Regions from separate parts of the Homo sapiens genome. Here all the other regions are linked to region 1. Evidence: promoter capture Hi-C in human tissues and cell types (Jung and others, 2019). All regions are on one chromosome and are shown on one strand. Each heading gives the region's core, a stretch centred on a gene start or on the middle of the fragment in contact. The rest is flanking DNA. Distances are from core to core; before and after follow the strand shown.

The links. Contacts are between HindIII fragments. The study calls those that stand out against the background at their distance.
Region 2: a fragment that was not itself captured here is called in contact with the fragment with the promoter of NEGR1 in region 1 in 2 of the 25 tissues and cell types used here (dorsolateral prefrontal cortex and hippocampus).
Region 3: a fragment that was not itself captured here is called in contact with the fragment with the promoter of NEGR1 in region 1 in 1 of the 25 tissues and cell types used here (hippocampus).

The regions. Positions count from the first base shown.
Region 1 is chr1:72,280,175-72,284,288 of GRCh38, reverse strand. It overlaps NEGR1 (neuronal growth regulator 1), which reads left to right and starts at 1,750. Exons shown (of 7, transcript NM_173808.3): 1 at 1,750-1,970. The coding sequence starts at 1,795. LOC105378797 (a long non-coding RNA gene) reads right to left here and starts at 1,355. Exons shown (of 6, transcript XR_947506.3): 1 at 884-1,355. RefSeq lists silencers at 1,314-1,403, 1,504-1,563. The HindIII fragment of the contact is 4,654 bases long and covers 1-4,037 here.
Region 2 is chr1:71,562,301-71,566,414 of GRCh38, reverse strand. All of the region lies in intron 6 of NEGR1 (neuronal growth regulator 1), which reads left to right. Among named protein-coding and RNA genes, the nearest start is that of NEGR1-IT1, 270 kb to the left of the region's middle. The HindIII fragment of the contact is 6,633 bases long and covers 1-4,114 here.
Region 3 is chr1:71,611,677-71,615,790 of GRCh38, reverse strand. All of the region lies in intron 4 of NEGR1 (neuronal growth regulator 1), which reads left to right. Among named protein-coding and RNA genes, the nearest start is that of NEGR1-IT1, 220 kb to the left of the region's middle. The HindIII fragment of the contact is 3,323 bases long and covers 613-3,935 here.

The DNA.
Region 1 (4,114 bases), core at 501-3,000:
TTTTCCATTTTCACTTCCCCGCTCTGCTTCCCAAACTCCTCGCTGAACAAGATTGATTGGTGTAACTGCTAACGACTCAGCCTCGGTTCTCGCATTGATTTGCAAATGGCCCGGAAAAGCTTAAGGATCTTGAATCTGGAAATGAGTTCAAGAAGGAAAGAAGAAAAAAGAGTAGGGGTGGCCCCACGCCTAGTATCTCCTTCTGCCTTGGGCCAGGGCAGGGCTGAAAACAGCCCGGCGAGCTGCGGAGGGGCTGCTGCGTGGGGAAGCGGAGGTTACCGCTCTGCACCGCGGAGGAGCAAGCCTGTTAACGCGGTGTGGAGGCTGTTAAGAAATACAACCCTGCGACTCGTTAAACCCCTTAACTCTGCCCTGCCTTGACTCGGATGCGCCGATTATTCGGCCTGATAGGCTCAAATGGGTTAAACTGCCTCTTACATAACTGGACCGCCTGGGCTCTACACAATTAAAACACTTGATTGCAGTCTTTTCCCGACTCTACATCCCAGCATGACCCGCCCCGTCCCTCCCAGCGCGCCTGCGTGCCGCGCGTGCACAGGCCCCCGCGCGCACGACACGCTCTCTATCACACACACACTCCATGTTGACCATAAACAATCCCCTACTCACACACACAACTTAGTGTCAACACCCACAGATAAAAGAGGGGCGTCCTGCAATCCATACGGGCCGACCGCCACAAACACGCAAGCTGCTCTGCCGCAAGGCCTTGCACCTCCTCGTGTCCCCGCAAAAAAGCAGCGCCCCGCCACCGTCCCTACCTATTCCCGAGAAAACGCAGAGAGAACTAGTTGGCTGCTCGCTAACTGCAGCGTAGCCACCCAGGCAAGATTAGAAGAAAATAAACAAAAAAACAACTCACAGTCGCCGGCGTCATGATGGCGCCGACCACAACTTGGAGGACTTCAAACTTACGGTGCCTCGAGAGGTAAAACGCACCGGTGAGGGAAGGCAAAGCGCCCCTCAGCTCTCTTCACCCCAGCCCTGACACGGAGACTTTTCTAGCAAAGAATCCCTCTAGCGCTTACGACAGTAAGGAGAGCCTTCATTCTAAGGTGCCTCTCTTTCCCCCTTAGTTTGCATAATTGTGATACAGTTCCTCCTATTTTTTTTTTCGTTGTCTTGCTTTTCTTTTTTTTTTCTTGCTATCTTTTTTCTTTCTTTTTTTATTATTTTTTTAATCCCCCTCCCTTCTCCATCCCCAGTCCCCTGGCGGGGTTGCTAAGGAAACGGCCGCTTGGCAACGCGCGCGAGCCCGGGAGCCGGCGGCCGGCGCAGCGCTCCGCGCTGCTTCTGCTGCTGCTGTTGCTGTTGCTGCTGCTGCTGCTGGGATTGCAGCCGCCGCCGCCGCCGCTCGCCCTGCCTCCTCCCCCGCCGCCGCGCCTCCTCCCTCACTCGCCGGCGCGCTCGCCTCCTCGCTAGATGGTGTGCGAGCCGCCCGAGAATTAGACACACTCCGGACGCGGCCAAAAGCAACCGAGAGGAGGTGTAGTGTGGTGCCAGGGGGAGGGAGGGGAGGGAGGGAGGGAAAGCGAAGAGGAGGAGGGGAGGCAAAAACACCGAAAAACAAAAAGAGAGAAACAACACCCAACAACTGGGGTGGGGGGAAGAAAGAAAGAAAAGAAACCCACCCACCCACCAAAAAAAAAAAAAAAAAAAAAAAAAAAAAAAAATCCTGTGGCGCGCCGCCTGGTTCCCGGGAAGACTCGCCAGCACCAGGGGGTGGGGGAGTGCGAGCTGAAAGCTGCTGGAGAGTGAGCAGCCCTAGCAGGGATGGACATGATGCTGTTGGTGCAGGGTGCTTGTTGCTCGAACCAGTGGCTGGCGGCGGTGCTCCTCAGCCTGTGCTGCCTGCTACCCTCCTGCCTCCCGGCTGGACAGAGTGTGGACTTCCCCTGGGCGGCCGTGGACAACATGATGGTCAGAAAAGGGGACACGGCGGTGCTTAGGTAGGAAGAACGGCGTGCTTTTCGTACTTGTTTCGGTCTATCTTTCTGTCTCTCTTTGAACCCTCTTTGCCTTCTTTATAACACAAGCAATAATGCTGGTGGTGCTCATCATGGAAAGACCACATCCCAAGAATTCCAGGTGCAGATTCTTCCCGGAGCCCCGGCCCGTTTATGCTGGGGCAGGTAGCAAGCTGGACTCGTGATGCTAAAGCACTTTGCCGGAACGCCAAGTAGCCTGGGGATGAGTGAACTGTCAGGTTTAGAAGGAGGGGCAGGTGCCACTTTGAAACTCAATGCACAAGGTCTCTGTTTTACTGTCATGGGGTACTCCTGGAGAGTCTGACAAGTTTATCAGGTTTGTTTCTATTTTACTCCAGCATAAGCGACTCTTTCAAACTGCTGTTCTCTGCTCCCATTTATTTTCCCTCTCACTTGGACACTTAGGCTCGATTTCTTGCTCTTTATCTTTCTTTCCTTTTACCGCTTTCTGTTTTCTTTCTTTTCTCCTTCCTCATTCTCTTATACCATTTTCCCCACCTCCTTGTAACTCTTTTTCCCTCCAATATCTCTTTTCATACCTTTTCTATTTTCTGTTTTTTCCCTCCTTTTTAAAATTTCTTCTCATATTTTCTCATTTTTATCTCCACGACTCTAATTTCTGTTCCTCACATTTAATCCCCTTTCCTCCTCTCTTTTACCCTTTTTTCTTTTTGTCTATTTTTTTTATTCCTCCTTAATGTCCCTATCCTGTGCCCTGTCTTCCCTCTTTTGACTCCCATTTCTCATCCCTCTCCCCATACCGTTTCCCACCCCTGTGGCACACACAGGCATGGTCACTGTTCCCCTCCAGTACCATTTACTCACCCTCATAAATCTTATTTCCATAAACATACTAACTCACATACTCTCACATCCTCACATGCACTGGCACTTCCATGCTGTAAGAACCACTTCCACATTCAGATTGTCTCTCACTGTTTTTAAAAGGCATACTCTCCTTCTCTGTTCCACATTGTCACTCACACATGTGTACACACTGCCTGTCTCACTCGCTGCTCTCACTCTGTCTCTGCTTCTCTCTTTTTCTCTTTCTGTGTCTTTCTATCCCCTTTTTATTCCTACCTTCCTCCCTCCATCAGTCTTCACTTTTACTTATTTTTCTCATTTTCCCTTCTTTCCTCTGAGCTTGAGCTCTGAGGTGGTTTGTCATTAATAAACATCCATACCCTGATTTTACCCCTAAGCAACACTGCAGAGTGGGAGTCTGGGAATATTTTATTTCCTATGAAAATATAAATGGATGATCAGCAAAGCTTAGATCTAAACAAAGCTAAACGCCCTATTCCTTCATTTCTTTCCCATCACCCTCCCTTCTCCCCCTGCCACCCCACCTCACATTTCCCTGAAAGATCTTCTTTTTCTCCACTGGGTGGTAGTTGGCTTGTAAGTCTGGCTTGCACAACATCAGTGTACATGACATGTCTAAGGTGAAAGAGAGTGGGAAATGTTTCTGTTTGAAACATGCAACATATTTAAATTTAATGATGTGGGTGTGGTATATGACTTACACCTTTTGGAACATGCCTATGAGTTCAAATTTGGAATACTATCGTATTTTTTAATATACACTAATACATATGTTTTTAATAATTTCTGTTTTGAATAACAAATGCCACTATATACAAAAGTAACTAATATCTTTGATATTACACAGTAAAAAAAAACTTTTCATTGTTGGTAACAGTGATAAATTCTTTGTCACAGAGAGGATATAAATTAAGCCTGTATTTTCTCTTTATGTTAAGTTTGTTTTAGAAGTTTGAACAACAGTGGTAAGGGCAAGACACTATCTTCAGAGATTGCAAACACATATCATGGGAGCTGCAATATGTATTTTTGTAGCAAGCAACATATTGCTTATTTGTAGTGAGCATTACCATTTCCACCCTAAAGGGTTTAGGAGACTGCTTTTCTTTCAATAATGTATCCTGGCATTTGGTTTCCCAAACAAACAACAATTTAATAAATACTATGGTTAGTGAAGATAGCTGGACCCACATTCTGCTTCCAGGAGACCCATGTTTAGTTCACTCATTGCTTCCAACAGTGGAGCTTCCCTAATATGTGGGGACCATATATTTCCA
Region 2 (4,114 bases), core at 1,010-3,509, 720 kb after region 1:
AGCTAGCTAAGAATTTTATTTCTAGTTGCTGTCTTCTCTGTGCCTCAGTTTACTTATATACGAAATACGGAAAATACTATAAAATGTTTTACCCTAGTTTGTTGATATATTTTTCTCATGACTAAATACATTAAAAATTAGGATACTTTTAAAAGTATATCTATTATTAGAAATCCATTCACCTAAATATCTATATTAGTTTGCTAGGGCTGTCATAAAAAATTACTACAAACTGGGTGGTTCAAAACAACAGAAATACATTGTCTTATAGTTCTGGAGCCAGAAGAAATCCAAAACCAAGGTTTTGGCAGGGTTGTTTCCTTCGGGAGGCTCTCAGGGGGAATCCATTCTGTGCCCATTTCCCAGCCTGTGGTAGATGTCAGCAATTGTTGGTGTCCCTTGGCTCGTGGCAACATAACTCCAATCTCCGTCTCTGTCTTCACATGGCCTTCTCTGTGTGTCAGACATTGTTTTAAATTAGGGCATATATTTTCAATATTTGACTTACATGTGGACATAGATCAGCAAGAAGAGACTAGCAAATTATTCAAAATAAAAAAAGAAATTTAGAAAAACTTATAGAATTGTATAAATCTATTAAAGGCTCCTATTGAAATTGTTCCTAAGAACATTATCCTCTCCAACCTAGTCTGGTTCCACTGATGCCCTCAATATTATTCTCTGCTTTTCAATATCTTATCTCCATTGCATCTATCATATTTATTTCATGTGCCTTTTCTTCCTTCAGCTGTGTGCTGTTTCATTTTTCTGTCTCTGCACTGTACCTGGTGAAGAAACTGAAGAGTCAGCTGGCACTCTCTGCAGGTTTTTGTCTGCATGCCAATACTTGTTGCTCTGTCCTATTTAGAGGGCCTGAGTTCTTGATGAGGAAATGTGCTCTGCAGAGAGACCAACACCAGTTTGGCAATCACAGGGAGAAACACTTATTTTCCCTGCTAAGCAAATACCTTGTTACTGAAAAACCACTAAGAACTGAGATGAAGTCTGTATACAAGAAATGACATGAATCATAAAAGTCTTAGCCAGGCTTAAACTATTGTGTATACATACATAGAAGCATACCCAAGCACACAAACTCCAGCTGCTTATTTTTTCCTTTTCTTTTCCTTTGAATATGTCTTAATTCCCTAGTAACCCCAAGCCAAGGATTAAGTCAAGTAGGATCTCAGTAAGAATCTGATCCAACCCTGTTTTGGATAGAATTCATAGAAAGGCTTGAAGCTGGGGAAGCATGGCTTCCTACGAGGAACCACCAGGGAGTGTTTGGTTTACAACCATTTTATTTTATCTGGTTACCTCTCAATAAATGGGCCTTTGATTGGTTTGGGAAGAGGATCTCAGTACTGATTCTTCGCCTTAAAATATCATGCAAAATTTGTGTACTTACCTAATGATATCTAATTGATAGTTACTCTTAACTTCCTCTTTGAAGCAGTATGATACATAGTAGAAAAGGATGAACCCTACACTGCAAATCTGAATACTTGAGTTTTAACCATGTCTCTGCAATAGGTGACCTTGGAAAGTAACCTAATGTCATAGGGCACAGGAAGAGATTATCTCTAAATCTTTTTATAGCTGAGTCAATGATTATATGATCTGTGAGTTCCAGTTTTATCCTTGTGAAACATAATTATAAATAGTCTATCATATCCATATACTAGTTGCTTTGACAATTTTATAAAAACGACTGGCATCCAGAATTGATAAAACATAGTCATTTATAAAAAATTTTCTTATTTCTTTGAACTATCAACAAAAATTGCGATTAAATTTTTGATGTTTTCTTACTGTATAGAGCACATCTTTGTACATATCAACACTAAGAGAGAAGATTGAGACAGGGAGGAAATATGAGTAAAGGAAGTACTGGGTTTTGACTTTTAAAAAATTGAGATCCAAAGGAAGCAGAGCTTTTATTTTTTGTTCTTTTGTGGGTACAAAAATAAATGTAAGAAAAGATAGCAGAATGGGGAAGATAAAGATTGTGGAGTCACAGAACTGGGTCCAAATCCTTAATCCACTACTTAACATATGTATGATTTTTCCCAGTTTATGAAATTAAGTTCTCTAATTCTTAAATTTTGGAAACAAATACTATGAGTGTATGTGGTGATGATAATGTAAAATAACATACGTGCATTCCCCTAGCAAGGGGCTACTCATCCTAGATCAGTACTTCCCAAACTTATTTAAAGTGCAAACAGATCACCTGAGATCTTGCGAAAGTCAGATTCTAATTCACTACATCTGCGCTGGGGCCTGAGAGTCTGCATTTCTAACAGTCTCGCAGGTAATGCCAAAGCTTTGCGTTGCATGGATAAAGGCATTTGATAAAAATGTAGAATACCTTTGGCCTTTTTCCTTCCATTTCCAAGCATAAATACATATTTGTTTTGAAATGATAGAGTGGAAGGTTGGTCTTTTTTTTTTTCCTCCCCGATCAGTGTGCCTCTTCTGTTCCAGTCGTCTGTCACCTATAGTCAGGGCAAAGGACACCAACAGTGTATCATTTTCAAGTCAAATTGTGTCAACCTGCTAGGACAAGTTCCCCAAACTTTCACAGGGCTCTGTGATCCTTCCTTTATTTTTTTTCAGCCATCACTTCCAGTTCACAAATGCTAGATTTATTTATTAAAGTCTTCACCCTCTTTTACACTAGAAAGGCAAGATTCCCAGTGAAACTCTTTTCTTTTGCTTGTTCCAAACTTCTTTCTGTTAAAAACAAATATAACAACGACAAAAAAATCTTTCTCTTACATATCTGCAGGCTCATGTCTTTACCATTTTTGTGCTCTTCTATTTCTCTAAATGATAGCAAAGGGCCTAGCAACCATTTACTTGTCTTTCTAGTTCTTTCAGTCAATAATAGATGATAATTTACTCTCCCTCTGTATGATTGGAGCATATTTTGAATTATCCATTTAAGCTTCATCTGTAATTAAAATTATGTGGGCATTTATGACATTATTCTGCAAAAATGCTCTGTGGGCTTTCTCTGATCTAGCTCATGGAGTCCAGGTGCAAAGCAGCATAAAAACATTGAGGGAAAAATCAACCCTATCTTGGGTTCATGCACCGGCCATTTATCTGCCAGCTTACAAGCAAAATTCATAGATGTGTCTTTCCAGGAGATTAAGTATCTCCCAGAGTCAGCAGGAAATCTGAACTGTTATCTTGTTGCACTTAAGTAAAAGGTAGTCAGTCCTCTCTCTCTCTATTCCAATATGTTTCATGGAGAACAAGCACTCTTTTATAAGCAAACAAATATATGCCACGTGAGATTCTATTATTATTCACAAATATTCACTTACTTCCCCATGAGAGGATTACACATTTATACCCATTTTTAGATAATGTGCAAGGCCTTCTTCCTATTGACATTGGTGATCATGTGACTTGCTTTGGCCAATGAAATAGCAGAAGTGATGTGCACCACATCTTAGCACAGGCTCCAAGAACTACTAATGGTTATGTCTCAGACTTTCCCTCTGCCATGAGAAGAATATGAGCCAGGTAAGTGATATGAATCTGGTCCTAGAATGAGGAAGACACATGGAACAGAAGCAAAACTGCAGTTGAACTGTTTACGTGAGCAAGAAATAAATTTTATTGTTGGAGTCACTTAGACCTTGACTGTTATAACAGAATAACCTAGCAAAAGCTGAACAAATCACTGCTTTTACCTACACAAATGATTTAAAGGAAAGAACACAGCCCCTAAATAAAAGAAAAGAAAACAAGCTAAATATCCAAGTAATTTCATACATTTTTAAAAGGTGAGAACTAAACAATTACATTCTTCCTTGTGCCTTAGGAAATCTGTACTAGGAAAGGCTTACAGATTTCATAAGATTCTAGTGCCACTTAATTGAAAGTACCTGCTTCTCAAGTTGGAATGAAAATGACTATGAGGTATTAGATGAGGAAAAAACCCAGATTATTAAGATTTGTCAAGAGTGTGACGGGGTAATGGTAAGCAATGTAATATATTTGCTCTTCATATTTTAGAACCAGGAAAAATACCAAGGAATACCTGAAGATTTATGTCCAGTGTTTTAAAGAAGGAAATAAGATCTTTCTAGATTCTAGG
Region 3 (4,114 bases), core at 1,025-3,524, 670 kb after region 1:
AAATAATCTCTGTAGGATTTTAACTAAATCATGTCACTCCTCTGCTCAAAATCTGCAAAACCTTATCAGCTTAGAATAAAATTCAAAGCTTTTACCATGGGCTACTAGACCCTATAGAATCTGGGCTCCAGCCCCCTGCCCCACCTTCTCTTCTAGATTATTCTCACCTATTCTACTCAAGCAATGATGACCATTTTGCTATTTCTAAAACAGTGTGTTAAACCTAATCCTGTTAAACATGTTTCCACCTCAAGTATGCTCTCCACTCAGGACCTTTGCCTTTCCTTTTTCTTATTATAATTTTCTACGAATTGCCAAATGATTCCTTTTCTCACATCATTTAATTCTTTGTTCAAATATTACCTTATCATCCAGGATCTCTGAGACTGCAACATAGTAAATAACATATCTTGCTCTTCCTTTTTCTTTCACCCTGCTCTGTTTTCGTCTTAGTTTGTATCACTTCATATCAGCTCTATGAGGCCAGGAATATTTTTTTTTTCATTAATGTGATCCCTGATAAAATATGTGTTGAATCAACAGAGGAATAAAGAATAAATAAATGGATGAATCCTTTTCTTTTTGAACAAGTTATTTCCAAAAGATGCACAGTAATATGAGTATGTAATAAGAACTTTTATGTCTCCAAGTAAAATCAATAGAGGTTTTTGGTTCAAGTTTATAATTTTAGCCACAAAGGGATAGCCTCATGAGAATCTTCTCTCCACATTGATTACTTCACAACACTTGGACCTTTAACTCTATACCTTGCAAAATGCTCTTAGGACTTTTTCTTATGCATATTTATTCATTCTTTATCCATATTTCCATGTGACATTTTAGATATCTTTCCATTTTCGGTGTCCATCATAGCAGCCCACGAAGCCCTAGATAACAGGATCATGTCCCTTTAACTTGTGTGGTAAAGCACCCAGTACTGAGCCGTATGTACACTGTACTGCACAAAAGCCTTTTAATGATGAACTAGATTTTGATTTCGGTTCATTACGCCTGGGTTTTCAGGCAATGTTCCGGTTTTCAGGCAATGTTCCGGATTTCATGCTTTTGTTTATAATGAGTCATGGCCCCCTTGACAAACAAGAGAGTAATTAAACTAACCAGGTTATCAGTAGAAGCTTGTGATGGATCTCCTGTTGCATATGGTTATTTCATCTTCAATAATAGTTAGATATCATAAAAGATTACAGTCTGTTTGTGTGACAGGAAAGAGAGATTAAAGCCTATGAGAACAATAGTGAAAATACAATCTTACCTGTACCTGTCATGAGCAGTGTCATAATAATTGACAAGTACATGAAGTTTTATTTATAGATTTTTTAATATATTTAATTGGCTTTTGCAGGTGACATGAAATTTTGCTTAACAAAACAATTTTAAAATTATGAAATGATTTCTTGTGTTTGTGAATATACGTATATGTATACACCCATATATAGATAAATGTGTATATATAAGGGTATATATGTATATGTACATTATAAAAGTTATACATATATGATTTATATATATATAAAACTGGGTGTGTGTTTGTGTATATGTGTGTATCTATATTATCTTGTAACAGTTCTCATGCAAACATTTTTTGGAAATATTATTTCATTTTTTTCACCAATTTATTAGCAAGTACTTTAGCAAAAATATTTTCCTTGCAATGTTTTCTAGAACTATAAATAATAAGAATAAAAACACCACAGAGAAATAGAAGTGCAATAATTTCAAAAAGAAGTATTTCCCTTAACAGAAAATGATGTATTTCCTAGGGTATTTTTTTAGTTGAAAGGCAATGTTCCATTGTAAGAGTTTTTATAGTTTTCATATGTTGAAAACTATATATTCAGTATTCACTGAATATTGATAAACCATTAAGTGCTGTACTTTTTAATTGCTTTCCAAAGAAATCAAAATACATCCATAGTGCACACTTAGGCCATATTTCTGAATGAACTAGTTTTTGTATCTTCAAGATTCTAGTTGTTGATTAATAATTTTCTATAGTGTTATTTGAAATATGAATTATAGTATGTTAAAAACTTGGCAGAATAGGAAATATTTATGAAAAGACGCATGCATACAACTCCTAATGTTTCCCTCCAAAATTCTTTTTTTTTTTTTTCGAGATGGAGTTTCGCTTTGGTTGCCCAGGCTGAAGTGCAATGGCAGTCTCAATTCACTGCAACCTCTGCCTCCCGGGTTCAAGCGATTCTCCTGCTTCAGCCTCCCAAGCCTCCCGCTTCAGCTGGGATTACAGGTGCCCACCACTATGCCTGGCTAATTTTTGTAATTTTAGTAGAGACGGGGTTTCACCACGTTGGCCAGGCTGGTCTCGAACTCCTGACCTCAGGTGATCCACCCGCCTCGGCCTCCCAAAGTGCTGGGATTATAGGTGTGAGCCACTGCACACAGCCCCCTCCAAAATTCTTCTATTTACTGTCCTTTTCATCTCAGTCAATAACCTTCCAGCTACTCAAGCCAAATTAAATCACCCTTGACTCCTCTTTTTTTCTCTATGTCACTTCAGTCTGTCTAGAAATCTTATCAGCTCCAATTTCAGAGTAGACCACAAGCCCGATAACTTTCCACCACTTGCACTGCTACCACCCTGGAGTGAGCCACCCACCTTCATTTGCCTTGCTTACTGCATTCCCTACTTTATCCCTAGACTTTTATCCTAGCCTCACTATGGTCTTTTCTCAACACAGCAGCCAGAGTCATCTTTTCAAAAAAACAATCAGATTTTATCTGTACTCTGCAGGGACTCACCATTTGTCTTAGAATAAAAGTCAATTCCTTGAAATGACCTGAGAGGTCCTACCCAGTCTTCCATCCTTTGTTTCTCTTTGGTGTAAACTTGGAATCCACTGAAAATTGGTCCTATCTCCTCCTACTCTCCTTCTTTCTCTTTGTGTCGGCCACACCAATCTTGCTATTTATTAAACAAACTTGGCTAGCTTCAGCCTCAGTGTCTTACTGCAAGCTGTTCCCTCTTCCTTCAAGGTTCTGTCTCTAAATATCCACATAGCTAACTCACTCATTTACATCTAGTCTTTGTGCAAGTTTTGCCATCTCAATGAGGCCTACTCAGATTACCCTATCGAAAATAGTATTCCATTCCATTCTCTGATTCCTCTTACCTTGCAACTATAAGGGTTTTGTTTTTGTTTTACTGTATTGTTTATCACCTTCTAACATTTTATTTAAACTACTTATTTGTGATATTTGCTGTTTATAGTCTGTCTCCCCATTTGTTACCCCATCTAGAATATAAGCTTCATCACGTCAGGGCAATTTACTGCTTTGTTCCTTGAGAAATGCCTGGCACATGTTGACAGCTGAATAACTATGTGAAGGATAAAAAAAAAAGTTATGCTACAAAAAAAGCTTTTTAAGCATCACACTGTGCTAGGCACTGTGTAATGATCTTGGAATATACAAAGAATGAATCAGATATTTAACCCTGCCTTCAAGGAACTGAAAAGGAAATCTGGCATACCCATAAATACAGTACATGATACAGTGCAATACATTTCTTTTTTGTTTTGTTTTGTTTTGAGACGGAGTCTTGCTGTGTCGCCCAGGCTGGAGTGCAGTGGCACAATCTCGGCTCACTGCAAGCTTTGCCCCCTGGGTTCACGCCATTCTCCTGCCTCAGCCTCCCGAGTAGCTGGGACTACAGGTGCCCACCACCATGCCCGGCTAATTTTTTGTATTTTTAGTAGAGATGGGGTTTCACTGTGTTAGCCAGGATGGTCTTGATCTCCTGACCTCGTGGGCCACCCGCCTCGGCCTCCCAGATTGCTGGGATTACAGGCGTGAGCCACCGCACTCGGCCAATGCAATACATTTCTATCAATACATGATAGAAAGTTGATGGTATGAGAGATCCAGATACTCAGAGGCGGGGAAACTTTTTCCAGCTAGAGCAATAGGGAAGAGCATGGGGACACTGATGCCTAATATGGATCTTGAATCTGTGGAAATGGGGAACAACGGCATTCGGGCAGAAGAAACTACATTAAAGAAAAAATCACTAAATTACTAAAGCATAGGGAGGAGGCAGGAAAAAACACAGAATATTTCAAGAGCCCAGGCTTTG